Regions from separate parts of the Homo sapiens genome. Here regions 1, 2 and 3 are each linked to region 4. Evidence: promoter capture Hi-C in human tissues and cell types (Jung and others, 2019). All regions are on one chromosome and are shown on one strand. Each heading gives the region's core, a stretch centred on a gene start or on the middle of the fragment in contact. The rest is flanking DNA. Distances are from core to core; before and after follow the strand shown.

Evidence for each region. The method cuts DNA at HindIII sites, captures the fragments that hold promoters and counts their contacts. A contact is called where the count stands out against the background at its distance.
Region 1: a contact is called between the fragment with the promoter of ZNF710 here and the fragment with the promoter of UNC45A in region 4, in 1 of the 25 tissues and cell types used here (spleen).
Region 2: a fragment that was not itself captured here is called in contact with the fragment with the promoter of UNC45A in region 4 in 1 of the 25 tissues and cell types used here (spleen).
Region 3: a contact is called between the fragment with the promoter of CIB1 here and the fragment with the promoter of UNC45A in region 4, in 1 of the 25 tissues and cell types used here (liver).

The regions. Positions count from the first base shown.
Region 1 is chr15:89,996,687-90,003,201 of GRCh38, forward strand. ZNF710 (zinc finger protein 710) reads left to right here and starts at 4,638. Exons shown (of 5, transcript NM_198526.4): 1 at 4,638-4,928. RefSeq lists silencers at 4,090-4,259, 4,668-4,836, 5,252-5,751 and enhancers at 5,451-6,219, 6,220-6,515. The HindIII fragment of the contact is 12,330 bases long and covers 81-6,515 here.
Region 2 is chr15:90,014,437-90,021,392 of GRCh38, forward strand. The region is part of intron 1 of ZNF710 (zinc finger protein 710); the gene reads left to right. Among named protein-coding and RNA genes, the nearest start is that of MIR3174, 11 kb to the left of the region's middle. The HindIII fragment of the contact is 6,651 bases long and covers 1,195-6,956 here.
Region 3 is chr15:90,230,622-90,237,786 of GRCh38, forward strand. CIB1 (calcium and integrin binding 1) reads right to left here and starts at 3,320. Exons shown (of 7, transcript NM_006384.4): 1 at 3,214-3,320; 2 at 3,048-3,082; 3 at 1,598-1,706; 4 at 736-886; 5 at 474-592; 6 at 313-401. The coding sequence starts at 3,264. It overlaps GDPGP1 (GDP-D-glucose phosphorylase 1), which reads left to right and starts at 3,588. Exons shown (of 4, transcript NM_001013657.3): 1 at 3,588-3,671; 2 at 3,901-3,975. RefSeq lists silencers at 2,813-3,262, 3,283-3,722. The HindIII fragment of the contact is 18,702 bases long and covers 1-6,727 here.
Region 4 is chr15:90,933,217-90,939,836 of GRCh38, forward strand. UNC45A (unc-45 myosin chaperone A) reads left to right here and starts at 2,069. Exons shown (of 20, transcript NM_018671.5): 1 at 2,069-2,159; 2 at 2,328-2,489; 3 at 2,730-2,766; 4 at 3,069-3,244; 5 at 6,515-6,607. The coding sequence starts at 2,109. RefSeq lists an enhancer at 1,155-1,254 and a silencer at 1,885-2,284. The HindIII fragment of the contact is 5,793 bases long and covers 1-4,478 here.

The DNA.
Region 1 (6,515 bases), core at 3,388-5,887, 930 kb before region 4:
GCTTCCACTTCTCCCAACAACCCTAGAAGGTGGGCATTATTTAAGTTAAAAAGGTGTCACAAAAGGAAGTGGGTCACCTGTCCAGACAGGTTCTCACAGGGAGGTAATCTGTAAGAGAGGAAATTGGTATGGAAAGTGGAGGAGACTCTAAAGAGGGGAAAACATGTTGAAAGAGAATTCCCAAAGGGAAACCCTGTCTACACATTCTGGCTCAGACACTCCATGGTAGTGACCTTAGGAAGTTTTTAAGCTTTTCGGTGCCTCAGCCTCCTCCTCTGTAAAATGATAATGACACCTACCTCAAATAAAGTGCTTAGCCCAGCCTCGCACTAAGGTGGCTGTACAGGTATGTTTATCAAAGCAGGTTCATAAAAGCGAAAAACCTGCAAACATCCCATGAGTCTAACAATTTGTTTAAACAAATTAAGATACACACATACCATGGAATAATATCATTCACTAAGAATGACAATGTGGGCTGGGTGAGGTGGCTTATGCCAGTAATCCCCACACTTTGAGAGGCTGAGGCAGGAGGATTGCTTGAACCTAGGAGTTCGAGACCAGCCTGGGCAACATAGCAAGACCCAGTCTGTACCAAAAAACAAAAAGAAAAAATACAGCCGAGCATGGTGGCACACAAATGTAACCCTAGTTACTCGGGAGGTTGAGGTGGGAGGATGGCTTGAGCCCAGAAGTTCGAGGCTGCAGTGAGCTATGATCATGCCACTGTAATCCAACCTGGCTGACAGAGCAAGACCCTGTATCCAAAGAAGAATGTGGATGTTTACAGACCAGAAGATAATTTGTGACATATACCGGGTGAAAGTAGCTGCAATTCAGTAGGTGTAGTGTTATGCCATTTTTGTTAATTTTGTAAAAATAACATGCTTATACATAGAGTCATCATTTGCTTAATGATATTGACTTTGTACAGTTTTATTATGGTGTGCACTTACATGTAGCCACTAGGATATAAAATGTCCAAGGATATACACCGAAATATGTCTCTAGATAGGGTTCGTTTTCGAATTCTTTCACAATGAACTTGTGTTGTAAAGAAATAACAGAGGGCTGGGCGCAGTGGCTCATGCCTGTAATCCTAGCACTTTGGGAGGCCGAGGCAGGCAGATCCCCTGAGGTCAGGAGTTTGAGACCAGCCTGGTCAACAGGGCAAAACCCTGTCTCTACTAAAAATAAAAAAAAAATTAGCTGGGTGTGGTGGCACATACCTGTAATCCCAGCTACTCGAGAGGCTGAGGCAAGAGAATCGCTTGAACCCAGGAGGCGGAGGTTGCAGTGAGCCAAGATCGTGCCACTGCACTCCAGCATGGGTGACAGAGCGAGACTCCCACTCACGAAAGAAATAATAGAAGTGTAAAATGTTTACAAAGCAGGAACTGGAGCTGTGGTATCTGCCTGGATCCTTGAGGGCATTTGGCTGGTGCCAAGTTCATGTGCAGGTCACTTGGAGAACCAATAATCCAACCAAAGGACTAAGAGGTTTTGGGAGCTTTAAATCACGTTGTGGAGAAGTCAATAATCACCCCCTATCCCTCCCCTGCTCCTCCAGTGCAAACTTCTGTGATTACGTCTCTCTCCTGAGCAAACATAGCCAGGTGCCTGCTCCCAGGGGCCTTCCTGGATTTCATGAGGCCCATCCTCTCCTGATTCCTATTTGTTCCTCAGGCAGGCTACAACTCTGCTGATCAGGCTGGGCCTTGATAACCAGTCATCAAGCTCTGGTCATGTTCCTGAGAAGCCACCTGGCCATCTTGATCGGATGTGGTGTTCACCAATCCCAGCCTCCCAGTGGGACACTGGTCATCTTTGAAGGAATGCTTCCCCCTCAGTCAGCTCATCATGTTTCTGGTGTGGTGAGTCACTCTGGTTTCAACCCTGAACGTAATCTTATTTCCAGGTCATCGGGGCACTACCCAGTCACTCCCTGATTTGTAGTAATAGTAAATAAAAGCTACCGGGGATTGGTGCTTATGTACCGGACACCATGCTAGGTGTGGGGTTTGAGCCTCACAACAAACTGTGAAGCAGGTATTTTTATCCCTATTTTACAGAAAAGTTAGAGAGGTTGACTTGCCCAGGAATATGCAGCAGGTAAGCCTGGGCCCTTAAACTAAGACACTGTCTCTGCAATCCACAGGTCTTCTTACCTGCATTTTATATGTCCCGAAATTAAGTCGAAGTTATTCACTGAAGTTATGTTATTCATTTACATTCATGAAGTTAGCAAGTGGGAGGGGCTAAAATCTGAATATTTCCCTGACACCCTCCCCTTTTTCCCACTTGTGCTCTATCCTCACTCTCCCCCCACCCACTTGTATTCTAAGCTGCAGTAAACACTTCAACTCTTGACAGTTCTAAGAACCTGTAATAATGTGCCGTCTTGCCCTGGGGCCTTTGGACAGACTGTTCTCTCCCATGCATTTGGCTAGCACAGCCTAATCTAGACACGACCTCCTCCAGGAAGCCACACCTGACCACCTTAGTCCAAGCACCCTCTTAGGAGCTTTCTTGGTTCACTCTTGCCTGTATCGCATGGCACTGAGGTTGCTGTCTTCTTTTCTTGCTCCTTCGCCTGCAAAGCCAAAGGCCAAAGCAAGGACTGCGTCTTGCTGATGATTCGGTCCTCAGCAGCCAGCACCTTCGCCGGCACGGGGTAGGTACTCAGTAGGCATTTGTTAAGTGCATGCTTGGCTCTAAGAGCTGCATTCTGCTTTTTTGGAGGATGCAGCTTGGGTGTACTAAGTGGGAGGCTGCAAGTGATGACGGAAATGTGGTTTCCTGCAGACCTGGGCAAAGGCCCTGGGGTCATTGGGGGCTCAGGGTGCTGATGTTAAAAGACCATGGTGTCCTTCTTGTTGAACCAAACTCTCAGGCTACTGTTTCCTCACTCCTCGTCAGAGACAAATGTGTTCTGAGTGACTGGAGTCATAGCTCAGAGCACCAGGAGCTGGTTTAGGGTGGGGCGAGGGGCCGTGGCCTTGGGGCTCTCGTTTCTAAAGGCCCAGGGCTCAGGGCTGGGGGGAGGGGTGAGGAGTGGCAGGTCGTGTCCCCGGGAGGCTGCAGTCACTGGGGGAGAGACAATGGGGCTCAGCATCTGCTCCTCCCTGGGAGAAGGGACCCTTCAGTGAAAAGCCAGGGAGAGCAGGGAAGTGTGGGAGGAATTGATGAGGAGAAGGGGTGGAGCCAAGGAGATGCAGCCGGGAGGAAGGAAGGGAAGGGAAGGAAGGGAAGAGGGAGGGGAGAGGATCCAGGCTTTCCTTCCTCCCGGTGACCTGGTCCTGAGCCGCAGCTTCCCTTGCATTGTTCCCTGAGTTTGCTCTCGGGGCCCACCGAGACCTCACGTTTCTCCCCCTGGCTGCAGCCCCAGTCCGAGGGCCCGGCATCCAGCAGGTGCTCAATACTTACTTGGGAAAATGACAAATGTGACCAACTTTGCTTTGGGAACTTTCCCCCGTCTTCTCCCCACTCCTCCGGAGAACCCGAGGACAGAGCAGGTCTTGGGAGCACGCCCGGGCGCCCCATGAATAATTGACCCTTCCTGGCGGCACTGCCCGGCTCTGTCCGAGGGCTCCGGACCCGCCCTGCGTTGCAGTCGAGAAACGGCTCGGAGTGGCGGGTGTTCTGGAGGTTGGAGGCCTGGTGTCCGGCCTGCGCCGGAGCTGGAGGGCGGCGAGGCTGTGCCAAACCCCGCGGCCCCTCAGGGAGCCGAGAGGGACCTGACGGCCGCGCTGCCAGCGACCACGCCTCGGCGCCCCCCAGCAGTGCGCCCCGGGGCCGAGGCCCAGGCCCTGGGCTCGGGGACCCCGCCAGCCCGCCGATCCCAGCAGCTGCCCTGAGCCCCTTCTCCACCCGGGCCCTGGCGCTCGGAGCCCGCGCCGCTCCCTCGAGTCAGGCCGTCCAGGGCTCTGCTAACAGCTGTTTAAAGGCTTTTGCTGTTCAGTGCTCTGCGGGGATGTTTGTTCCAGGCCCATCTGCCTACTTTAAAAATACATAAGTGAAGCACACACACCCAGCTTGCCACCTCTGGCTGGGGAGGGGCGGGCTCGGCGGCCCTCGCTCGCACTTGGGAAGGAACCGGCACCCAGGAGCCGCACCCGTGCCCCAACACCCGCACCGGCTCTCCTCTCCAGAGGACGCCCCTGGCTTCCCTTGGGGGGGGCGGGGCGCAGGGCCCCCGGGCCCCCTTTGTACCGGACAGGGCCGGGCCCCCCATTTCCAAGCGAGGTCTGCCTCTTCCCCGCTTCAGTTAATCTTTGTTCCCCTTTTCTGCTGAGAGGAGAAAAAAAAAAGAGAGAGAGAGAAAGAAAGAAAAGAAGGAAAAAAGGCGTGACTTGATTTTCAAACGAAACTCCCACAGCAAACAAAACCCTTTTAGAGAAATAAGAAAGGAGGAAGAAGGAAGAAAAGAGGGAAGAAAAAAACAGGAGAAAGAAAACCCTTCAGGCTTTCAATTCGAGTGGGAGAGTTGAACCGAAAGAAAGAGAAAGAAAGGAAGAAAAATCCTCTGCGGTAGAAAGAGAAAAGAAAACTTGGGCTGACAAGAGGGAGGTGTTGGGGGTGGAAGGAAGTGAGAAAACAAAAGAGAGATAAAAGGGCTGCTTTTCTGTCTCTCTCTTCCTCTGCGAGCTGGCTTAGGAGGAGCTGTTTTGCATCCCTTCACGTCAGCCCTGCCTCATTCCCTTCTTCCAGGGAGGGAGAGAGCGCGAGCGAGAGAGCGAGCGAGAGGAGGGGGGAGAGAGAGAAAGAGAGGAGCCGGAGGGAGGGCGGCAGGAGCAGGCGGCGGGCGCGCGTGGAGGCGGGCGGCGGGCGCACAGCAGCAGCCCGGGCGGTGGGCAGCCAGGAGCCCCCGGCCCGGCCCGGCCCGGCCCGCCGAGGGCCCCAGCGCAGGAGCCGCGCCCGGACCCAGGGTGAGTGTCCCGCGCGGCCCCCCGCCCCAGCCCCAGCCCCAGCCCCGCAGCCCCGCGCTGCCGGCCGGCGGGGGCGCGGGGGGCGCGGGGGTGGGTCGCTGCGGCCGCGGCCGACCCGCCCCCCGCCTCTCCCTGGGGACGGCCGCGCGCAGGCCCGCGCCGCGCTGCAAACATGTCGTCTTTTCCTTTCACTTCCACATTCCCTCATGCCGGAGAGCTGGAGGGAGAGAGGGAGAGCCGGGGAAAGAGGGAGAGATGGCGTCTGGGGTGGGGGGGAGGGAGAGGAGGGGGAGGGGGAAGGGAGAGGGAGGGAGCGAGCGAAAGAGGGCGAGAGGGAGGAGAGCGCGCGAATGAGAGAGAGAGAGAGAGAGAGAGAGAGAGAGGCAAAAATGAAAGGAAAGCGTCGCGGCGGCGGCGGCGGCGGCGCGGGAGGCCCGGGAGGCGACGGTGGCGGAGGCTCTCGGGCCCGCACGTGGGTGTCCCGGTGCTGGGTGCGCTCCCCCCACACCCGGCCCGGGACTCAAAGTTTCACCCCCTCGCCGCCCCGCCCCTACGGCTGCCCACAAACTTTATTCTCGGAGCGGGTGGGGTTGTTGCGCGTCCCAGCCGGCCGGGGGTGGGGGAGAGCTGAGCGCGCCGCTGGCGGGGCTGGGGGCGTCCCCGAGGGCCACTGGCCGCCGCACGCTGGGCGCCGCGGGATCTCCGCCGGGACAGCGTCGGGGCGCCGCGGGCCGGGGACCCAGGACCGGCGCTCGCTGTCTGGGGGCGTGGGGGTGGGGGTGGCGGGCGGGGTCCCTACGGCCCGTCTTGAGCCTCCCGCGGCTCAGCCCCCCTTCCTCCTCGTCGCCCTCTCTCCGTCTTCTCGCGGTCATTTTCCTAATTGGATGGAGCTGTGGGGCGTGAGCACCAGCGTCAGATCGGGGCCCTCAGGCTACCAGGTGGGCGCGCGGGCTCGGGGACCGACGGGGCAGCCCCAGCCTCCCCACCCTAGGCGCACAGATCCCGCAGATCCGGCCCTTGGGCCACCGCCCCCTTCACCGCGGACTTGCTAACTAGTGCGTATCGGGTTTTTTTCCAACTTGCCTTTTAAGATGACTTTTATGGGCGCTGCAACTGCTTCCCTCCAGTCTAAGCTGTAGTTTGGAAAGATTTAAGAGGCCAGGGAGGTGCTTGTGTGGATTTTAACCAACCTGAAAGGGTCATTCATGTATCTCTAGGATTTGCGAGACGGTTAGGGCAAGGCGTAGCAGTATCCGGGGTGCCTTTTCTTTTTTCTTGATATGGAGTCTTGCTCTGTCGCCCAGGCTGGAGTGCAGTGGCGCGATCTCGGCTCACTGCAGCCTCCGTCTCCCGGGTTCAAGCGATTCTCCTGCCTCAACCTCCCCAATAGCTGGGACTACAGGCGCACGCCACCACGCCCGTTTAATTTTTAATTATTTTTAGGAGAGACGGGGTTTCACCATATTGGCCAGGCTGGTCTCAAACTCCTGACCTCGTGATCCGCCCGCCCCGGCCTCCCAAAGTGCTGGGATCACAAGGACTCTTCGAGGTACTCGTCCTACTGGGTCTGAGGGAGGCCTGCCGGGC
Region 2 (6,956 bases), core at 3,270-5,769, 920 kb before region 4:
GAGGCTGAGGTGGGAGGATCAGTTGTACCCGGGAGTTTGAATCCAGTCTGGGAAACATAGTGAGACCCTATCTCTTAAAAAAAAAAAAAAAAAAAGATGGCATTTAAAAAATTATGACCTGGTTTAACTAGATGGCCATCTAAAAAACGAACACATTAAAACAAAATAAATTTCAGTTGGGTTAAAGATGGTAAATATTTTTAAAAATGAACTTGGAGAAAGTACTTTCTAAGAATGACTTAAAACCCAGAAGTCATAAGAGAAAAAATTAATATATTTGACCCTATGCAAGTAAAGAATTTCTTCTTGGCAGAATCCATCATAAAATCAAAGGAGTCTCCCAGTTCTCAAAATTGGGAAAGCATTTTTGCAACATATATCATGGAGCTCATTTCCATTTCCTTAATATCTAAAGAGTTCCTACAAGTCATTAAGAAAAAGACCATCAACTGAATTTTTTTTTTTTTTTTTTTGAGATGGAGTTTTGCTCTTGTTGCCCAGGCTGAAGTACAATGGCGCGATCTTGCCTCACCGCAGCCTCTGTCTTCCAGGTTCAAGCGATTCTCCTGCCTCAGCCTCCTGAGTAGCTGGGATTACAGGCATGCACCACTACCCCAGCTAATTTTGTACTTTTAGTAGAGATGGGGTTTCTCCATGTTGGTCAAGCTGGTCTTGAACTCTTGACCTCAGGTGATCCACCCGCCTCAGCCTCCCAAAGTGCTGGGATTACAGGCATGAGCCACTGCGCCTGGCCCATCAACCAAATTTTTAAAGCAGGCTAAAAACACAGACAGTTCACAGAAAAGGTTCTGAACCATATGAGAATGTGAGAGCCCACTAGCAATAAGAGAAACACAAGTTTTCTGTGGAGATGTGTTGGTGGGGAACAGATACTCTCATAGTTGTTGATAGAGGTGTAAATCAGTACAACTTTTATGGAGGAAATTCTGGCAATAGTTATTAAAATTAAAAGTGCACGGGCAATTTCTCTTTTGGAAATTTCTCTTAACAGATAAATTGTACATGTGTGAAATGATGCATTTTTCAAGATAGTTAATTGCATCATTGCTTGTAAAAGGAAAAGAGAAAGGAAACAGCCAGAATGTCCGTCACTAGAGAACTGGTAAATAAATTATCCAGCCACCATACAATGCAATTCTTTTTTTTTTTTTTTTTGAGACGGGGTCTTGCTCTTGTCATCCAGGCTGGAGTGCAATGGCGCAGTCACAGCCCGCTGCAGCCTCGACCTCCCAGGCTTAAGCGATCCTCCCACCTCAGCTTCCCAAGTATCTGGGAACACAGGCGCATGCCCGTAAATACTGAGAAAACCCACCCAGCTAATTTTTAAATTTTTTGTAGAGACAAGGTCTCACTATATTGCCCAGGCTGGTCTCGAACTCCTGGACTCAAGCAATCCCCCCTTCAGCCTCCCAAAGTGTTGGGATTACAGGCGTGAGTCACCGCGCCCAATGCCATACGATGCAATTCTGTGCAGTTGTAATAAAGAATGGACACGCCCTATGTACCAATGTACACTATGTACCAACTAAGACATTTTAAGTGAGAGAGAGGGATAGAATGCCTGCTTATGCAGTAGCTCCGCAAGGATATCTAGGAGGCTGGTAACAGTGGTTTCCCACAGTCGGGGCTGACTTTTCATGGTGTATCTTTTTCTGTATTTTGAATCTTGTACCTTGTGCACATACTACCTAATAATTTTTTTTAAAGAAGGAAAAAAGGATGGGTAGAAAGAAAGGAGGGTAGGCGGAGGTGGGGAAGAAGTCTTTCACCTTTGCTCTGCATTTTCACATAGACGATTTCAGTTAATACTCTCCAGAAACTGGTGCAAGGTTATCATTTTTAGACCGAGAAACTGAAGCTCAGAAGTCTGAAATGACTTGCCCAAGTTCATGGAGAGAGTTAGCCTTGGAACCTGGCATTGAATTCAGTCCTGACTCCAGAGCCATTGGACTCATCTCTGTCAGTTTTCTTTTCTTGCTTTCTTATATTTATTTTATTTTTTTGAGACAGGTCTCACTCTGTCACCCACGCTAGAATGCAGTGGTACGATCATAGCTCACTGCAGCCTCAAACTCCTGGGCTCAAGTGATCCTCCTGCCTCGGCCTCCCAAGTAGCTGGGACTACAGGCATGTACCATCATGCCTGGCTCATTTTTAAATTTTTTGTAGAGGTGGGGTCTGTGCTGGTCTCAAGCTAACGGCCTCAGTGATTCTTCCACCTTGGCTTCCCAAGGATTATAGGCGTGGGCCACTGTGCCTGGCCTCTTGTTTTTTTTAACCAACATTTCATTGGTCAAGGACAAATGGCCATACACCATAGCCTAGACCCATCTCTGCAAAGGGAGTGACTGTAAAGAAACTTCCACTCCTGCCTCTGCAGCTGGCTTGTGCCTACGGGGCAAAAGCTCAGGCAGTAGGTGGTAAAGGCAAGCCCAGAGCCCAGCCAGCCACATCAGACACTTCGAGGAGGATTACGGATTGGCTCTGCAGTCCTGCCTTTGAAGTTCCCAGCTTTTATCAGAATGTCTGAACCTTAGCGTTATTTCAAGGGAGCTTTTCTTTCTGTCTGTAAACTGGCCTCAGGTAGGTGCCAGCTGCTGCCAGGTGCTGAGGGAGCATTTCCTGGCTCCCTAAGCTGGTGCATTCACTTTGTTTTATGGCAGGGAACTTTTTAGGGGTAAAGGCACTTGGTACTTGGAAGATTCTGGGAGAATAACTTTTTAAAAATATTTTTCTATTCAGAAGTGCCATTGGATAGCATGTCTTTAATTAAAGGGAGGGAGAGGTGCATTTTTATTATTTGTTTCCCAGAACCACCTGTGCTGTTTTTCAAAGTAGGGTATTGACTGCTTCCTCCTTGCTGATGAGAAATGCTGTATGGAGAACAAAGCTGAAAGTGTTGGCCATATATAATACAAGGCTGTAATTTACAGGCTATAGCTTCACCAGGGGAAGAATTTGATGTCTTTAAGAGATACAAAATCATCCAGCTCCGGCTGTCCTTGTGTGTGGTGCCATATTTATTTTCTAACTTGGAGTCATCATTCTTTAAGAAAGAAGCAGGGTCCTTTTGGGCTGAGGAATGCTCTCGGGGGTAGGAAGTTTTCGGGATCTGTGGGCCTGAGCTGGCATGTCCAACATCCTGTCACTATACTGCTTGGCATCTTGCAAGGGATGCATCCTAATGACCCATCCTGTCCACTTTTGTTTGGTTACTTGGTGAAGGTGGGAGTGTCTTGAACAGCATGGTGCTGTTCCCCTGGAAAGTTTATACTCATCAGTGCCCAGTTGTTTGCAGAATTCGAGAATGGATGGGAAGCACCCAGGAAACGGTTCCCAAATGGATGCATTTTGATATCTGAAATAGACTTTAAAGCTTTTGGCTTTTGATCATAAAGGGACCGGCAACATTGAGACACCTCCCCACTGCTCCTCAGGTTTTCCTGGTGCTTGAATAATTAAGGCCATGCCCTATGGAATCTCCTTCCTTGGGCTCCAGGGCATCTCTCTTAGCAAAGGCTAGCTTCTCACTCACAGTGTGCTGTGAGCGCTCTGGACGTCCTACCCAGCATTCTGCTCCATCATCTTCTTGTGTTCTGTCTCCCCCAGAAAAACTTCTGTGTAACATCAGCTGTGTTCTTTTGCTTCAATTACAGAGCTTGTTAGAATTTCTCTTCCAAATCCCTGTTTTGGGGCTTTTCTTTTCTTTTTTCTTTTTTTTTTTTTTTTGAAATGGAGTCTTGCTCTGTCACCCAGACTGGAGGACAGTGGCGTGATCTCGACTCACTGCAACCTCCGCCTCCCGGATTCAAGCAGTTCACCTGCCTCAGCTTCCTGAATAGCTGGGATCACAGGCGTGTGCCACCACACCCAGCTACTTTTTGTATTTTTAGTAGAGCCGGGGTTTCACCATGTTGGCAGGCTGGTCTTGAACTCCTGACTTCAGGTGATCCGCCTACCGTGGCCTCCCAAAGTGCTGAGATTACAGGCGTGAGCCACCGCGCCCAGCTGGGGTTTTCCTACCGTGGTTGTAAAAATTCATTTCTTGTCGCCACCTAGATTAACAAATCTCAGATTAAGAACTGGCCTTTTTTCGCCTCCTCTTTGAATTCACTGTCTAAAGAAACGGCCATTGCCCTTTCCGTAAACCAGGACAGAGGTCATGTCTGCTTTGCCTTTTTGCACCTTGGCCCCTGCCTGCCCCTCACCTCCCCACTCAGCTACAGTGACTGGAAGGGCCCACACAGGAAAGCTGGGCCCTGGGTCTTCATGGACGTTGCTGGAGGATGTGTCTCCCTGCTGGTGGCTCTCAGTCTTCCTGTGCTCAGTAGGGCCTTCTGGAGGATTCTAATTTCCCTGTCCTGGAAACCACCTTGAAAATATTCTTAAATATTCTTAGGTGGATTTAAGATGTCTCTGTCTAGTGGTTTTTTGTTTGTTTGTTTGTTTTTTAATCCATCTTAGATTTGAATGCCCAAGGAATGAACAGTCTCTTGGATCTTGTATCTCTTCCTTTTGTTTTTTAGAAAATAGCTTTTATTGATTTTTTTTTCTTGCTACAAAGAGGTTGATGATTATTGCAGAAAATTTAGGGACTATAAGTAGGCAAAAAAGATAAAAACCACCTATAATTATTAATATTTTAGTATATTGTATAGCCCCCCCAGAATATTTTTCAATTTCAAAAGATGAGATCATACTGTTTGTACCATCTTATTACTTTTTCTTTCTTTTTTTTTTTTTTTTTTTTTTGCTTTTACTTTACAACATGTGATTAAAATTTCCATCAGGTTAAGCAGCCTCCGTCAAGTCACTTTAAAGGGTTGTATAGTTCTTTTGAACAGATGGACTATCATTTATTTAACCAATCTCCTACATTTAGCTTGTTTCCTCTGTTTCTGTCTTGTAAAGAATGCTGTGGTAAACATCCTTGGGTATATTTGCCCACAGACTTGGTTATTTCCTTGGGATACATCTCCAGAAGAGAATCACTGGGCCAAGGACACATTCTAAAGGCTGTTCGTCTAGATGGGTAAATTGCCCCCAGACACATTGTATCATATTTGGATTCTGTTTAGCCAAATACTAACTCCCATTCTTTTAAACATGGTTGTGAGTCTTTCAGACCTCTGTTTCCTAATGTTTCTCACGGGTCATACAGGTTGGCTGAGAGTAAATGGCAAGGAAGGGCCTGAGAGACTCCGGGCACAGCTGACCTAGGAAAGGGAGTCTGTCATCCTGGCCCGTCGCTTTACAATGGGAGTGCGAGGGCTGGGCCCAGAGACCCTGTCTTGCCTCCCATGACCCCAGGAAGCTGCAGGCCTGTGGCTCCCCAGGGTAACCTTCTCTGGTGCCAGCCGTTAGGGTGCCCGGGACAGAGAGCTGGCTTTGAGGATTCCAGAGTCTGTCAGAGAACTTAGGCTGGTCTTTCTTCCAAGAGAATGCTCCTAAACAAACATCCTGCCCTAATCCAGAGACTAGGTTGGTGCTTATTGGGGGGCGGTGAGTGGGGGAGCCGAGGATTTCCTGTGGAGGCCTCAGACTCTAGCCCAGGAGTCCAGGCCAAGGAAGTGCCTCTGCCCAGACTTTCAGCCCCTTGAAGCCCAGTTCTTCGTCATCACTTGGTGTGGGGAACAGAGGGAAGTTTGATGGAATTACTGAGGAAGTAGCATTTACGTGGTCTAAATCGGACCTTCCTGTTCCCACTGCTGACCGGCTCTTCCTCCTTTTCCGCTGTCTTCCTCCTGCGTGACAGCGCATTCTTCATGGGGCCTCTGGGGCCCTTCCTGTGGGCTGAGCTTCTTTCTTCCCTTTTCTCTCCTGCCGGGACCTAGACTGGTGCCCACCTTCAGGACTGGGCACATCCAGGCACCTCACAGCCCCTTCCCTCCTCCAGCTCTGCTACCAACGCCCCTGCACCCTTCCGTCCAGGCAGGGCTGTCCCAGCTGAGGCCCAAGCCCAGCCCACCCTTTCTTCTCAGTTCTGCCAAGAAGGCCATGGGGGCTGGTGGAGGCCCGAACTGCCTCCCCGCCCCCGGGGAGACACAGCATGCCAGCTGCTGCCGGGATGGGTTACAAAAAACAAAAACACAAACCCCAGCCCCTTGAGATGAGGGACGTTTCGGTTTCTGTGAACCTGACGCCTCATGTGTGTTGGAAATGAGAGGCGCAGTTTGGGAGAAGGAGGCTGCATGTTTCCCCTGGGGTGGGCTTTGTTTAAATTTTAATATGCTCTTCCTTTTTCTCAAAGTGCCAGCAATGGCTCCCAGCTCCTTTGTCATTTTAGCCCCGTTATCTGTCTGGGGATGAGATCTCTTATCTGCCCGGTCCTCCCTCTCCTCCCTGAATGGCGGGTCCCCCACCCGCCTCCCCGCAACTTGTGACAGTGTTACAGATCTCATTCTGCAACCTTAGATTCAGATGAAACTTGTCACTTTGCTTCTTTAATCAATTAAGATTTGGGGAAAGCAGGGGTCCATTTGTGATAGTGTTGGACCCACCAAGGGCATGAGTAGTGGGCAACTTTGGAGTCCTGTGAGAGAGGGTGTGGCACCCCCCCCCCCTTAGCAGCCTGGGGGACGTCAGCTCCAAGGGTGAGGGTTTCAGCCCTGGGTTCCTTGCTATGGAGTCAAACGTTTCTCCAGTGTGTGTTCAGACTTCTGACCTGGACCCGCCTTAGCCTTGGGGAGCTCTCTCAACTGCGTCCTTTGTTGGATGGAAACTGCATTAGACACAGAAACACAGAGCTGCTCTTTTCCCCACAGGCAGGTGCAGACCTGAAAGAGCCCCGCTGAAGCGGCTCAGAGGCAAGGGGAGGACCTCATCCTTAAGTCACAGGACTCAGGATTAGAGGACCTACAGCTTTCAGCCTCGGCTCACCATCTCCTAGCCCTGATGACCCACAGCCTCCCCAAGCCTTGGTTTCACAGCCTGTA
Region 3 (7,165 bases), core at 2,070-4,569, 700 kb before region 4:
AGCCCCCTCTGCAAGAACTCCCCGAGACATCCAGAGGGAGCTTTCTGGACCCACACACTGGGTCAGAGCTTCTAAACCTTTATTACTAATGAGTACAAACACAGAGCAATGACAATGGCAGTGGGAAGGGGAGAGGTCTTGACAAGGAGGGCTGCCCCTGCCCGGGGCGAGACTGCCAGCTTAGCCGGCCCTGTGTGTGGGGACTGGGGCTTTCTCTCACCCTGGCACCACCTCCTGTAGCCATGCCCTAGGCCCAGAGGCAGCAGGTCGGAACCTGCAGGTACCCAGAATGAAGGGGGACCACTGTCATACCTGGCAAAGTCTGGAGAACGGGAGATGACGTGCTGGAACTCAGAGAGGTTGATGGTTCCATCCCTGTCAATGTCAGACTCCTCCAGGATCTGGGAAAGGGAGAGTTTCAGGCCAGAGCCCCAACTGCTCCCTCCCGCTCCCAGGCCTGCTCAGCTGCTCACGTTGTCGATGAGCTGCTTCATCTCAGACGCACTAAGCCGTGTGTCCTCGCCCTCTCCCGTGAGGCAGTTCACCAGCCGGCTCAGGTCTTCTCTGTTCAAGGTTCCGTCATCATCAAAGTCTAGAGAGCAGACACAGGAAGCCAAAAGACACGGTTGGGAGGGGCTCTGAGGTTCCCCAAACGGCGCCCATTTCCCAAGCAGGGCCACCACAAAGCCCACGTGGGAAGGGGTGGTGTCCTGCCGGGCTGCTCCTGGTTCTCACCAAAGATGCGGAAGGCATAATGGGACTTGATGTCTGGCGTGGCTGTGTCACTGAACACACTGAGGAGATCCAGGAAGTCCTCAAAGCTAAGGCTGTCTTTGGCTGGGGATGTGGAGAAGACCCTGCAGATTCGCTCCTTGAAGGGGTTGGCCTAGGAGAACAAACGCCACAGGACGTGGCCCAGGTCACACGCTCATTAAAGCCTACCAGAAACTTGAGAGAGCAGGTCACAGGACCAGCACCAGCGAGCTCAGCCTCGTGGGGGTGAACAGTCAGTGCTTTGGGGCCAACATGGAGGGCAGTGGGGGCACAGGAAAGCAAACTGACCCAGCTGGGGAAGGGACTGAGATGGCTTCCTGGGAGTCAAGTGTTTAACCCAAAGGCAGGTCACATACAACGTAAGTGTGGGCAGAGAGGGAAGAAGAAGTCATCCTAAACAAAGGGAACGAGATGGGCTGGTTATTTTAAAACACAAATATTTACTTGAACAGCTATTGTGTTACAGGCACCGGGCCAGGCCCTTTGCACAGAAATTTTGCAGCAGCCTTACGGAGTGGCAATCAGCCTCTAGAACACGGTTCCTCAAACTCTAATGAGGTACCTCAACTCCTCTTAAGGGACAAAACTTCTTTGAACTTCCAAGATTATGTTCTAGAATCCCCATTTGAAAAGCACCATTCTAGATAATTCTGCCAGGTGATTTTGGTAAAGTCCTTGCCCCTAGAAAATCAGAACTAAGCAGAAAAATGACCAGAGTGGGGACCAGTGACCCCATGATCCCAAAGCTAGTGGCAGATGGAGTTAGGGGGTCTAGCAGGGAGGGAGTGGTGGGAGAGGTGTCAAAGGAGGGGAGCGCTTGCACCTTGAGCTCTGGAAGGCTGAGAATCTGCTCGAAGGGCACTTGTGCCCGAAGTGACGACTCCACGCTCCGCTGCTCCTGGGGAAGCAGCTCACAAAACCGCCTGTGGGCTCTGGTAGAGAGAGGGGAACTGTCGGTGTTCTCAGCGATCGGTCTCCCTGTGTGTTCATTCCCACTCCTTGCCTGCTGCTCATTGTCAACCAGGTGAGGAGCTAAAACCACGTACACAGAACTTCCGAGTCATCAGGCAACGGTAAGCAAAAGGACATGTCACAAGGCAGTACAGCCTAGGAGTCTATTCTTGCAATGAGTATTTACTGAGCATTTACTATGTGCTTGGCACTGATTCTAGAGATCCCCAAGGGATGAAGAAGTTGGGAAAGGAGCCAGAAGTTGGCCCTAAAGAATTGGCCAGGCACGGTGGCTCACACCTGTAATCCCAGCACTTTGGGAGGCCAAGGCGGGCGGAGCTTTGGAGGTCAGGCGTCTGAGACCAGTCTGAGCAACATGGTGAACCCCTTCTCTACTAAAAATACAAAAATTAGCCGGGCATGGTGGCGGGTGCCTATAATCCCAGCTACTCAGGAGGCTGAGGCAGGAGAATCACTTGAACCCGGAGGCAGGAGAATCACTTGAACCCGGAGGCAGAGCCTGCAGTGAGCCAAGATCGTGCCCCAGCACTCCAGCCTGGGCGACAGAGCGAGACGCTGTCTCAAAAAAAAAAAAACGGAGAAAAGAGCAAAACCAAAAATCTCATTCTCACCTTCACTCCAGGGATCTCTTACCCTCAAAGCCTCCTTTTTAGCAACCACACTGAACTGTCCTCCTCGGCCTCCACCTCCTTCCCATGAGCTTATCTTTGCCACAGGAACCTGGCCTGCATAAATCCGGCAAAAGGGCTTCCAGCCCAAGTTCAAATCTACTTACTCAGAGTGTTGTCTTAAGCAGTTACCAAACCTTTCTGAACCTGTTTCATTGTCCAGTACCTCTCTCCTAAAGATTAAATTAGGTAACGCAGGCAACCATTTAGCACAGTCCCTGGCACATGGTGAGTGCTCAGAAAGCGATAACGGTTACTGTATTATTCAGGTAAAGTTGGGAGAAGGAGCCGGGCTCCCCAAGGCTTCTGTGGTTTAGCCACTGGGCAAGGTCGGCCCCTGCCGGACTGGGGCAGGAAGTTCGGCAGTGCTGAAGCTAGTGGAGCCCAGGGTCAAAGAGCGCCTAACTTTTCCTGGAGGCTGTAAGGTGGCTCCGCGGTGCCACGCTGGGGCCTCAGGCGAGGGCGGGGAGGGCGTGCCGGGAGGAGGGCGCAGCCCGGGCTAGGTCTCCCGGCCTCCAGCTCCCGCTCCTCTGCAGACCTCAGGCCAGCCCCCGCCCCTCCCTCGGGACAGCGCCCCCGAAGCTGTCTCTAGAGGATCCCGGGGTCGGAGGCAGGGTTCAAGGCAGCACTTACAGGAGGATCTCCTGCTTCGTCAGGAACGTCAAGTCCTGGAAGGCAAAGCCAGAGCGGGGATTAGCGGACCGCTGGGAGGCCGCGGCCGCCCCGCAGCCAGCTCCCGGACCCTGCTCCCGAGAAGAGGCCCGCACGCGAGCTCCCCAGGGCCAGGCGTCCCGCGCACCTGGTACTCGGCCAGCAGCTCCTTGGACAGGCGACTGCCCGAGCCCCCCATCGCCCCGCCGCGCGCACAGCTCCGCCAACTCGCCTCGAGACGCAGACAACTTTCTCACTTCCGCCCTTGGGCCGCGTCACTGCCCGGTCCCCGCGGCAACCGCTCCTGGGGCCACCACCCCCGGGCCCGCCCCCTCCTAAAAGCTGCCAGGCGTTCCCAGCCGGGTTTGGCAGGCGAGCTGCCGGCTCCAAGCGGTCCTAGGCGAGCTGGAGGCGGGGCCCGGGGAGGGGCCCGACGCTCCGGGGCGGAGCCCGGGACTCACGGCCCCGCCTCCGGGGTGGGAGGGGGGGGCGGGCCACGCCGCGCGCGTGCGTGCTGGCTGCGTATGCGTCACGGGCGTCATGACCTCGCTGTGGCCCCGGCAGCGGCTGCGGGGAAAGTCGCGAGGTGCATCCGCTTCGGCTGCAGTAGGTGGTGGCGGCGGCAGCCCTGGGTGGGGTCCCATAGGGGCATCTGAGAAGTCACTGGAGCTAGCGTTTCCGGGAAACCTGGAGACTCGCTGAGTGGCGGGGGTCGTCGGCTGCCCCTCTGCCCAGCAAGGGCTTTTCTAGATGTTATCATCAGGCAATCGCTGCACCTGTCGCAGCCCCCAAGCCACCTCTTCCAGAAGTAACCATAACCTTGCTTCCTTCTTAGGCTATTTACTGAGGACCCACTGGATGTCAAGCATTGTGCATAGTTTTCTTCGATTGTTGCAACATCCCTTGCGAGGTAGGTTCCCATTTTACAAAGATGGAAATACGTAAGTCCAAAGGGTGTTAGTGATTTTTCCGGGCGCCGGCATTTAGAAGGTAATCGGTCCAGTCCAAGGCACTTTTAAAGGCTCTCCACTGCTGTTCTCATCATTCCAGCTGACCTGCCGTCCTTTTGACTCCATCTCACCCCTAGACTGCTGACCCTTTGCTCTTGTCCCCTCTTAACCTCTAGGATAATGTTTGGCACATAGTAGGCTCTCAGTAAATATTATCGAATGCATAATAAATGAATGAACGTATACTATTGCAAAAGGTAAGGATTCCAAACTGCTGGGAGGAGGAAGTGGAGGTTGTGTTGGTCAGGCTGGGATTAATTCTTGATCCTTCCAATCCATTATACTTGCTGATCTTTGTAAAGTCTAAATCTGAGTATGTTAGTCTCAGTTTATAACCATTAAATGGTTAAAAACCCAAATCCTGGCCCTCTGTAACTGGACTTCCTCCTATTGGCTCTCTGTCTTTCAGCCACTTTGGGCCCTCAGTCCCTCTTCCATCTCATCCTCAGGGAAGCCTTTCCTGACTCCCTAGACTGCCTAGGAATCTACTTTACACTGGAAGAATACCCAGTGCTCTCCTTGGCAGCATGTGTTTGATAAGACACACTGTATTAACAGGTACATTCCATCATTGTAGAAATATTCAAGGCCAGGCGCGGTGGCTCATGCCTGTAATCTCAGCACTTTGGGAGGCTGAAGCAGGCGGATCATTTGAGGCCAGGAGTTCAAGACCAGCATGGCCAACATGGCAAAACCCCATCTCTACTAAAAATACAAAAATTAGCCAGACATGGTTAAACCTGGGAGCTGGAGGTTGCAGTGAGCGGAGATTGTGCCACTGCAGTCCAGCCTGGGCAACAGAGTGAGACTCTGTCTCAAAAAATAAAAATAAAAAAAAATAACTAGGGTATAGGCCCATCCCAACCTGATCATTTTTCTCTTTTTTTTTGAGACAGAGTCTCGCTGTGTCGCCTAGGCTGGAGTGCAGTGGCATGATCTTGGCTCACTGCAAGCTCCGCCTCCTGGGTTCACGCCATTCTTCTACCTTAGCCTCCCCAGCAGCTGGGACTACAGGCACCCGCCACCACACCCGGCTAATTTTTTTGTATTTTTGGTAGAGACGGGGTTTCACCCTGTTAGCCAGGATGGTCTGGATCTCCTGACCTCGTGATTCGCCCACCTCGGCCTCTCAAAGTGCTGGGATTACAGGCGTGACCCACCGTGCCCGGCCGATCATTTTTCTCTTAATAGCAGGCTCTTTCTGTCCGAGAAAGAGTTAGTCTTCTGTTAGTAAAAGCTTAGGCAAAAAGCAAGAAGCTGTCATTATGTCTCCTGTACTAAATAGACCTTGTTTGCCTCTTACAAGCCAAGGCGAATACCTGGACTGCATGGTAATAAGTATCTGTCTTCTTTTTTTTTGAGACAGAGTTTCACTCCTGTTGCCCAGGCTGGAGTGCAATGGCATGATCTCAGCTCACCGCAACCTCCGCCTCCTGAGTTCAAGCAGTTCTCCTGCCTCAGCCTCCTGAATAGCTCGGATTACAGGCATGTGCCACCACACCCAGCTAGTTTTGTATTTTTAGTAGAGACGGGGTTTCTCCATGTTGGTCAGGCTTGTCTCGAACTCCCAACCTCAGGTGATCGCCTGTCTTGGCCTCCCAAAGTGCTAGGATTACAGGCGTGCGCCACTGCACCCAGCCATAAGTATCTCTTTATAGTGAAGACATGAGAGTCAGCTTTGTGCCTGGTGACCAGCTGTGATCTAGATCTCTCAGTCACTTCACTTGGCTCTGAACCCTTCATGGAACAACCTTTGGTTTTCATTTTGCTTCCTGATTCATTTTGTACACTGACCAGCCAGCAAGAACCTTTTGTGCCATTTGGCATATTTCTCATTGTAAATTATTTTTATTTGTGAGATGGAGTCTCACTCTGTCACCAGGCTGGAGTACAGTGGTATGATCTTGGCTTACTGCAACCTCTGCCTCCCAGGTTCACCTGATTCTCATGCCTCAGCCTCCTGAGTAGCTGGGATTACAGGAGTGCACCACCACGCCCAGCTAATTTTTGTATTTTTTTTTAGTAGAGACGGGGTTTCACCATGTCGGCCAGGATGGTCTCGATCTCCTGATCTCTTGATCCGCCTCCCTCAGCCTCCCAAAGTGCTGAGCCACCACGCCCGGCCTCTCATGGTAGATTATTAAATGGGCAGTCTGAATCATTTGGTAGTCCTCGGTGAATCTGGTTAGCATATTGTCCCTCCTGTACCTGATCAACTCTTGGTACAGTGATAAAACCGAGCTGCTGATATACTTTTATTTTTTATTTTATTTATTTTTTTGAGACAGAGTCTCACTCTGTCACCAGGCTGGAGTGCAGTGGTGCGATCTTAGCTCACTGCAACCTCTGCCTCCCAGATTCAAGCGATTCTCCTGCCTTAGCCTCCCGAGTAGCTGAGATTACAGACGCCCACTACCACACCTGGCTAATTTTTTTGTATTTTTAGTAGAGACAGGGTTTCACCATATTGGCCAGGCTGGTCTCGAACTCCTGACCTCGTGATCCACCCACCTTGGCCCCCCAGAGTGCTGGGATTACAGGCGTGAGCCACCGTGCCCGGACTTTATTGTAATTTTCTTTTTTTCCCTTTTTTTTTTTTTTTTTGAGATGGAGTCTTGCTCTGTCACCAGGCTGGAATGCAGTGGCACCACCTCAGTTCACCACAACCTCCACCTCCCAGGTTCAAGTGATTCTCCTGCCTCAGCCTCCCAAGTAGCTGGGACTACAGGTGTGTGCCCACCACCACGCCCAGCTAATTTTTGTATTTTTAGTAGACACAGGGTTTCACCATGTTGGCCAGGATGGTCTCGGTATCTTGACCTCGTGATTCACCTGCGTCAGCCTCCCAATGTGCTGGTCCAGGGATTACAGGTGTGAGCCACCGCACCCAGCCCCTCATTGTGATTTTGATTTGCCTTTTCTTATTGATTAATGACGTTAAACATCCCAAATGTGCTTGTTGGCCATCTTTATATCTTATTTGAAAAAATGTCTAAGATTATCTCTTTTTTTTCTCCTTTTTTTGGTTTTGTATTATTTTTATTATCTCATTTTAAATTTTTTCGCCTGTCAGATAAGATTCTCTTTTAT
Region 4 (6,620 bases), core at 819-3,318:
TTGCCTTGTCTTCTTATGCTATGAGAGCTCCTATTTCAGTCTCTAGGCATCTTCTGTGGGCCCCTGGGGTGATGAGTGTTGTCACTGCTGTCCTGGGAGCATGATGTTGTCAGGCCTGGGTAGGCACTGGAATAACACTTAATTCTGCTGGCTGGTGGCCTTCTGGAGAAATTCCCTGCCTTAGGGGCAGCTGAGGGGTAAGAGAGACCTGGTGATCCCCATAGAACTTCTCTGTGAGAGGGGGTTCCCTATTAGCTAAGTATACTCTAATCAGACATGTAGCTTTTGTGTTCTGGCTGGTAGCTGGGGCAGATAAGGCTCAGGGGAAAGGCTAATGAAAGGAGTCACCCTTGGTTTTCAGCTAGTCTTGGTGGTTGCCACGTAGCAGAGGTTAGGGAGGGAAGCCCCACATGCTGGAACTGAGGTCTCTGGGACCTGAAATAGGAGGGTCAGAATTCCCAGAGCTTCCATGGCAGCCTGGAAGTTGGAGAATGGGTAGAAACATATTTGGCTGTAAATGCTTGTTTGTTCTTCATACTAATGGCTCAGCTGCTCTCTCATCCCTCATTCTGTCCTCTAGTCCTTTGAGCCTTCTCTCCTTCAGCAGTTTGGCAATGCAGGCCCCACGTTTTCCAACAGGAGACAGAAACCCAGTCCCTGTCATCTCTCTCTAAAAGCCTGTGATAGAGAAGCTTCAGGCTCGTATTAATGGTGCCCAAGGGCCTTGGGGCTTTGACTTTTATTTCCTTATTGTCTGCAGTCACGGCCTAGAAAGAGAGATGTTGGGGTTCCCAGGACCAGGACAGAGGTGGTAGTGAACTCTCATGGGCATCCAGAGAAGGTCAGGCCCCTTGCTGACAGGCCTATCTGTGGGGCTACTGCTGCTCTTCAGCTGGGTGACCCTTGTCCAGCCAACCTCTCTCTCAGGTACAGCACTTACCCCTGTGGCCCACCTGCCTCTGGTGCTATGGGCTATTCCTGGGAACTGGAACTGATGGGGATGGGTGGAAGGGCATCTTTTCTTCTGGTAGGGGCTGATCTCTTTTACTCTCCAGTAGGGGTGGAGTGAGCTGTGGAAAGGCCCCTCCTGCTTGTCTCTAGCACCCCCACCTCTCTCTTCAGCTCTGGTCCACCACCCTCACTTGTGCCAGACCACCCGGGATGTCCATGGCCGTCACTACCCTGGTTTCTTTTGCCCTCGTCTGTCTGATTCTCCAGAGGAAGCCTACTGCTGCCACCTGCAGGCTGCAGGGGGCTCCTGCTGCACCCGGGCTGAATTTGAGGCCCTGTACCAAGTCAATCTGTCCGCTCTTCCGCCCCCGCCCATCCTCAGGTGAGATCTCCAACCCCAGAGCCACTGGAACATCGACAGGGTGTTCCAGTATCTGGGGCTCTGTTCCTAAATTATGGGGTGGTAGGCTTGTAACTTACAGACTAGTGAAGGGACAGACCGCAACAGAAAATCATGTAGATCATGATTACAATTACAAAGGAGAAGTTCAGGGGGCTGTGCAAGCTGGTAATGGGGAGCCATCCTGAATCTGCCCATGGGTGGCTCTAGGATGAGCTCCTAAATTCGTATGCAAATGTGTGTATGTAAGACGACACTTATTTGGGGAGGGAGTCCTGAGCTTTCTCCGGACTCCCAGGGATTCTGTACCCCCCACAGAGCGCAGCAGCGAGAGCGCGGTCGGGGCCGGGATCCAGATACTTTTTCTCTCCCGCAGGGGCCCAGGCCCGCTCCTAGTGCTGGGCCTCTACAACCTACTGGTTGTGACCCTGATGACCGTAGACCTCGTGCACTTCTGCTGCGGTCGGGGCCGGAGTCTGGGCTGGAGCCACCGCAGGCCTCCCTCTGGGTCCTCCGCCGCGAGCTCCCTGCAGGTCTCTGCGGGGACAGCTTAGGTGCGCCCGGAGCTTGCCTGCACCTGCGATCCAGAGCCAAGCGCCCCGCCCCTGCCCGGGCGCGCTCCCTCCTTAGCCCTGCCCCTCTCTGACCCCACCTCCGACGCAAGAGTGGGGCGGGGCAGCTGCCGGTGGCGTCCCGAACCCAGACTCGCCCCGCCCCAGAGACTGCGCCTGCGCGGGCACGAGACAACCTCTCCGCGATGACTGTGAGTGGTCCAGGGACCCCCGAGCCCCGGCCGGCCACCCCCGGGGTGCGTACCCAACCCCCGCGCCATCACCCCTTCGCACCCGCCCTGACCATCCCTGGCCTCCTTCTCCCCATCCATGAGGCTCGCCCCGATCCCTCCTCTCCTCTCCCCTTAGCTCCCGGGCTCTGCCCCGAACCCCCTCCGACGTTTCCGCCCCCTTTCTCTCTACAGGCCAGCTCAGTGGAGCAGCTGCGGAAGGAGGGCAATGAGCTGTTCAAATGTGGAGACTACGGGGGCGCCCTGGCGGCCTACACTCAGGCCCTGGGTCTGGACGCGACGCCCCAGGACCAGGCCGTTCTGCACCGGAACCGGGCCGCCTGCCACCTCAAGCTGGTGAGGGAGCCTGGCGCTCTTCCCCTCGCCCGCCCGGGCCCCGGTTCGCCCATCTAAGCTGATGCTTGGGCCCCAGCTGGACATTCACGCTCCCAGGCCATCCCCGCTTGCCAGATGTTTTTTGCACCTCAGGGTGGTGGGGGATCGGGTGACCTTGGAGAGCGAGAGTACCCCTGCTGCCTGGTTAGTGCCCCGAGAGGGAGATGACCATTCCTTCAGGCTCCTGTCTTTCTCTTACAGGAAGATTACGACAAAGCAGAAACAGAGGCATCCAAAGGTAGGGGAATGGTGGGCCCTGGTGTGGAGCTGTAGGGCTTCTGTGGTGGGCAAGGACTCTGGGACCGCTGCACCGTCACATTCTCCTCCTTTGGCCCCAGAGACACATCTGCCTTCTTTCTTTCCCACTGCCTCGGGCCTTTCCTTTTCTGCAGCTACCCTCACCTTTTCTGAGGCTGAAGCACCGAGCCCCACATTCGTCCCCCCCACCTTCTTCTGGCCTTTCCTCGAGATCTTTCCCTACTGCTCTTGCCTGGAGACAGTGGCCTCATGGGTGCTGACAGCGCTCCTGTTTGTGCTCAGCCATTGAAAAGGATGGTGGGGATGTCAAAGCACTCTACCGGCGGAGCCAAGCCCTAGAGAAGCTGGGCCGCCTGGACCAGGCTGTCCTTGACCTGCAGAGATGTGTGAGCTTGGAGCCCAAGAACAAAGTTTTCCAGGAGGCCTTGCGGAACATCGGGGGCCAGATTCAGGAGAAGGTATGTGAGTGACCCAGAGAGGTGGAAGCATTGACTGGTGGTGAAGGGGTCTGGGCCAGGGGTGTAGACACAGTTCTCCAGACGAGATCCCGGTGGCAAGTGAACCTTGCCTGTGGCCAGGGAAAAGCAAATTAAGATGACAGCACATTACTGTTGATTTGGAGGTCTGTCTGGCAGATATTTAAAAGTTTGTACACTTTTCGAGAAGGAGAGAGGCAGACACATCAGTGGTGAGGCTGGGGGCCAAGGGCTCTCTGATGACTGCTGGAGGGGTATAAATTGGTACAGCTCTTTTCGAGAGTACTTTAGCATATCTATTCAATTTCAAATGAGCGTATCTTGTGATCCCATATGTTTACTTCTTGCTGTTTCTCTCAGAGAAACCTTGTCCACGTGCACAAGTAGACATGTGTATGTTTATTTCAGCCTTTTTTGTAGTAAGAAAAACTTGGAACTTGCCTGAATGCCCAGCCATAGAGGAATGGCTGAATAAATGGGTAATGTCCTTACTACAGACTCTTATATAGTTACTGAGAATAGGTAGATACACACATATTGAAATGGGAAGCTCTGGGACACTTGTTGAATGAACAAAGCAAAATAGGCAGGGCATGGTGGTTCATGCCTGTAATCCCAGTGCTTTTGGAGGCCAAGATGGGATGATCACTGGAGGCCAGGAGTTTGAGACCAGCCTGGGCAACATAGTGAGACCCTGTTGCTACCAAAACCTAAAAAGTTAGCTGGGTGTGGTGGCACACCCTTGTAGTCCCAGCTACCTGTGAGGCTGAGGCAGGAGAGTCCTTTGAGCCCTGGATTTTGCAGTTACAGTGAGCTATGATCGTGCCACTGCACTCCAGCCTGGCTGACAGAGTGAGGCCCTGTCTCTTTCAAAAAAGAAAAGAAGAAGAAAAATATACAATAACACATATAGTATAATATCATTTATGTTAATGATCCCCTACATAGCAAAACAATGCTATATTTTTTCTGTGGGTACACTTGGGTATGTAAATACAAAGGAAAATAATTGTTTTTTTTTTTTTTGAGACGGAGTCTTGCTCTGTCGCCCACACTGGAGTGCAGTGGTGCGAACTTGGCTCACTGCAACCTCTGCCTCCCAGGTTCAAGTGAGTCTCCTGCCTCAGTCCCCCAGGTAGCTGGGACTACAGGGGCCTGCCACCACGCCCGGCTAATTTTTTGTATTTTTAGTAGAGATGCGGTTTCACTGTGTTGGCCAGGATGGTCTGGAGCTCCTGACCTTGTGATCTGCCTGCCTCGGCCTCCCAAAGTGCTGGGATTACATGTGTGAGCCACTGCACCCAGCCGAAAATATTTTATTTTTTAAATTTATTTTTATTTTTATTTATTTATGTATTTTGAGACGGGGTCTCACTCTGTCACCCATGCTGGAGTACAACCTCTTCCTCCCGGGCTCAAGCAGTCCTCCCACTTCAGCCTCCCAAGTAGCTGGGACAAATGCATGTCACCACGCTCGCCTAATTTTTATATTTTTTGTAGAGACAGGGTTTTACTGTGTTGCCCAGGTGGCTGGTCTTGAACTCCTAGGCTCAAGGGATCTACTCACCTCAGCCTCCCAACTGGCTGGGATAACAGGCGTGAGCCATGGCACTGGGCCAAATATGCATTTTTGTTTCTTTATTTTTTCAGGAAAATATTTTAAAAGATATACATCAAAATGATAACACGGTGACCCCTGGGGAAAGGAATGGGATTGAGAGGGCTTTCCAAAGGAGACTGCATCACCTGTTCATATTTTTTTAATAAAGAGAAATTGTGTAAAATACGTATATTTTTAAATTAGGAGAAAAGAATCTAAAGACCATTATGAGCTACAACCAAGCTCAAATTCGCCAGATAATTTGACGTTAAAATGCTGACACAGTGGAAGCAGATAACATGATGGCAGACACCTCACTGAAATGTTGAAGCCTGGGAAAGCAAATAGGTTTCCTCTCTCAATGCCAACTCTGATTGGCAGTGGCTGCCCAGAGTCCTATGTTGAGAAGAATTAGGAAGCAGATTGCCTGAGCCAAGCAGGGGAACGTGCCATGACTGGTTAGTCATGGCTGCCATGGATGCAAGAGAGGAAGGCGGGTGGTCCACATGCTAGGCTTGTGCCACCATCTATGCCCAGGACTCTGGGGGGTGGGGGAGTAGGCCTAGGATGATCTTCCCCATTCAGATTATTTATTTATTTATTTATTTGTTTGTTTTGAGACAGTCTTATCCTGTCACCCAGGCTGGAGTGCAGTGGATCTCTGCTGACTGCAACCTCCACCTCCCAGATTCAAGCGATTCTCCTGCTTCAGCCTCCCGAGTAGCTGGGATTACAGGCACCCGCCACCACACCTGGCTAATTTTTATATTTTTAGTAGAGACGGGGTTTCACCATGTTGGCCAGGCTGGTCTCAAACTCCTGACCTCAGGTGATCTGCCCACCTCGGCCTCCCAAAGTGTTGGGATTACAGGCGTGAGCCACCGTGCCTGGCTTCAGATTTTATTTATTTATTTTTTTGAGACAGAGTTTCACAGTTATTGCCCAGGTTAGAGTGCAGTGGCGTGATCTCGGCTCACTGCAACTTCCGCATCTTGGGTTCAAGTGATTCTCCTGCCTCAGCCTCCCGAGTAGCTGGGATTACCGGCATCTGCCACCACGCCCGGCTAATTTTTTGTATTTTTAGTAGAGATGGGGTTTCACCTTGTTGGCCAGGCTAGTCTTGAACTCCTGACCTCAGGTGATCCACCTGCCTTGGCCTCCTAAAGTTTTGGGATTACAGGCGGGAGCCACTGCGCCCAGCTCAGATTATTTTTAAAACAGTGAAAAGAGAATTCTGGAGCTAAAGGAAGTGTTAGCAACTACCTCACGATCTGCCAGCTCCCTGGCAGGAGGTATAAATGCTGAGTTCAGTGCCATGGGAAGCCCATTCACGCTGCCACAATGTAGATGGCACCACTGGGAGTGGGTTGCCTCGTAGCTGACAGGATACCTCCCCTCCGAAAAGGCACTCCAGCATCGGCGCAGCCCCTGCTGCCCAAGCAGGAAATAGCTCAGAAAGAAAAACAGGTGCGGGAAATTTAGGAGGCACTGCCAGGCAAGTCTCTTCCTGCCCAGGGTAGCTAGGTGCTAGCCCTGAGCCTGGACATCTTTACTGTGCCTCCCAGAGTGAGGAGCTGGAGACAAATGAATAGGGAGTGTGATGTCTCTGGCCAAGAGCCGTGATTTGTTCCATGCTTTGTTGGTTTGTCTAGGTGCGATACATGTCCTCGACGGATGCCAAAGTGGAACAGATGTTTCAGATACTGTTGGACCCAGAAGAGAAGGGCACTGAGAAAAAGCAAAAGGTATAGGCCCTGG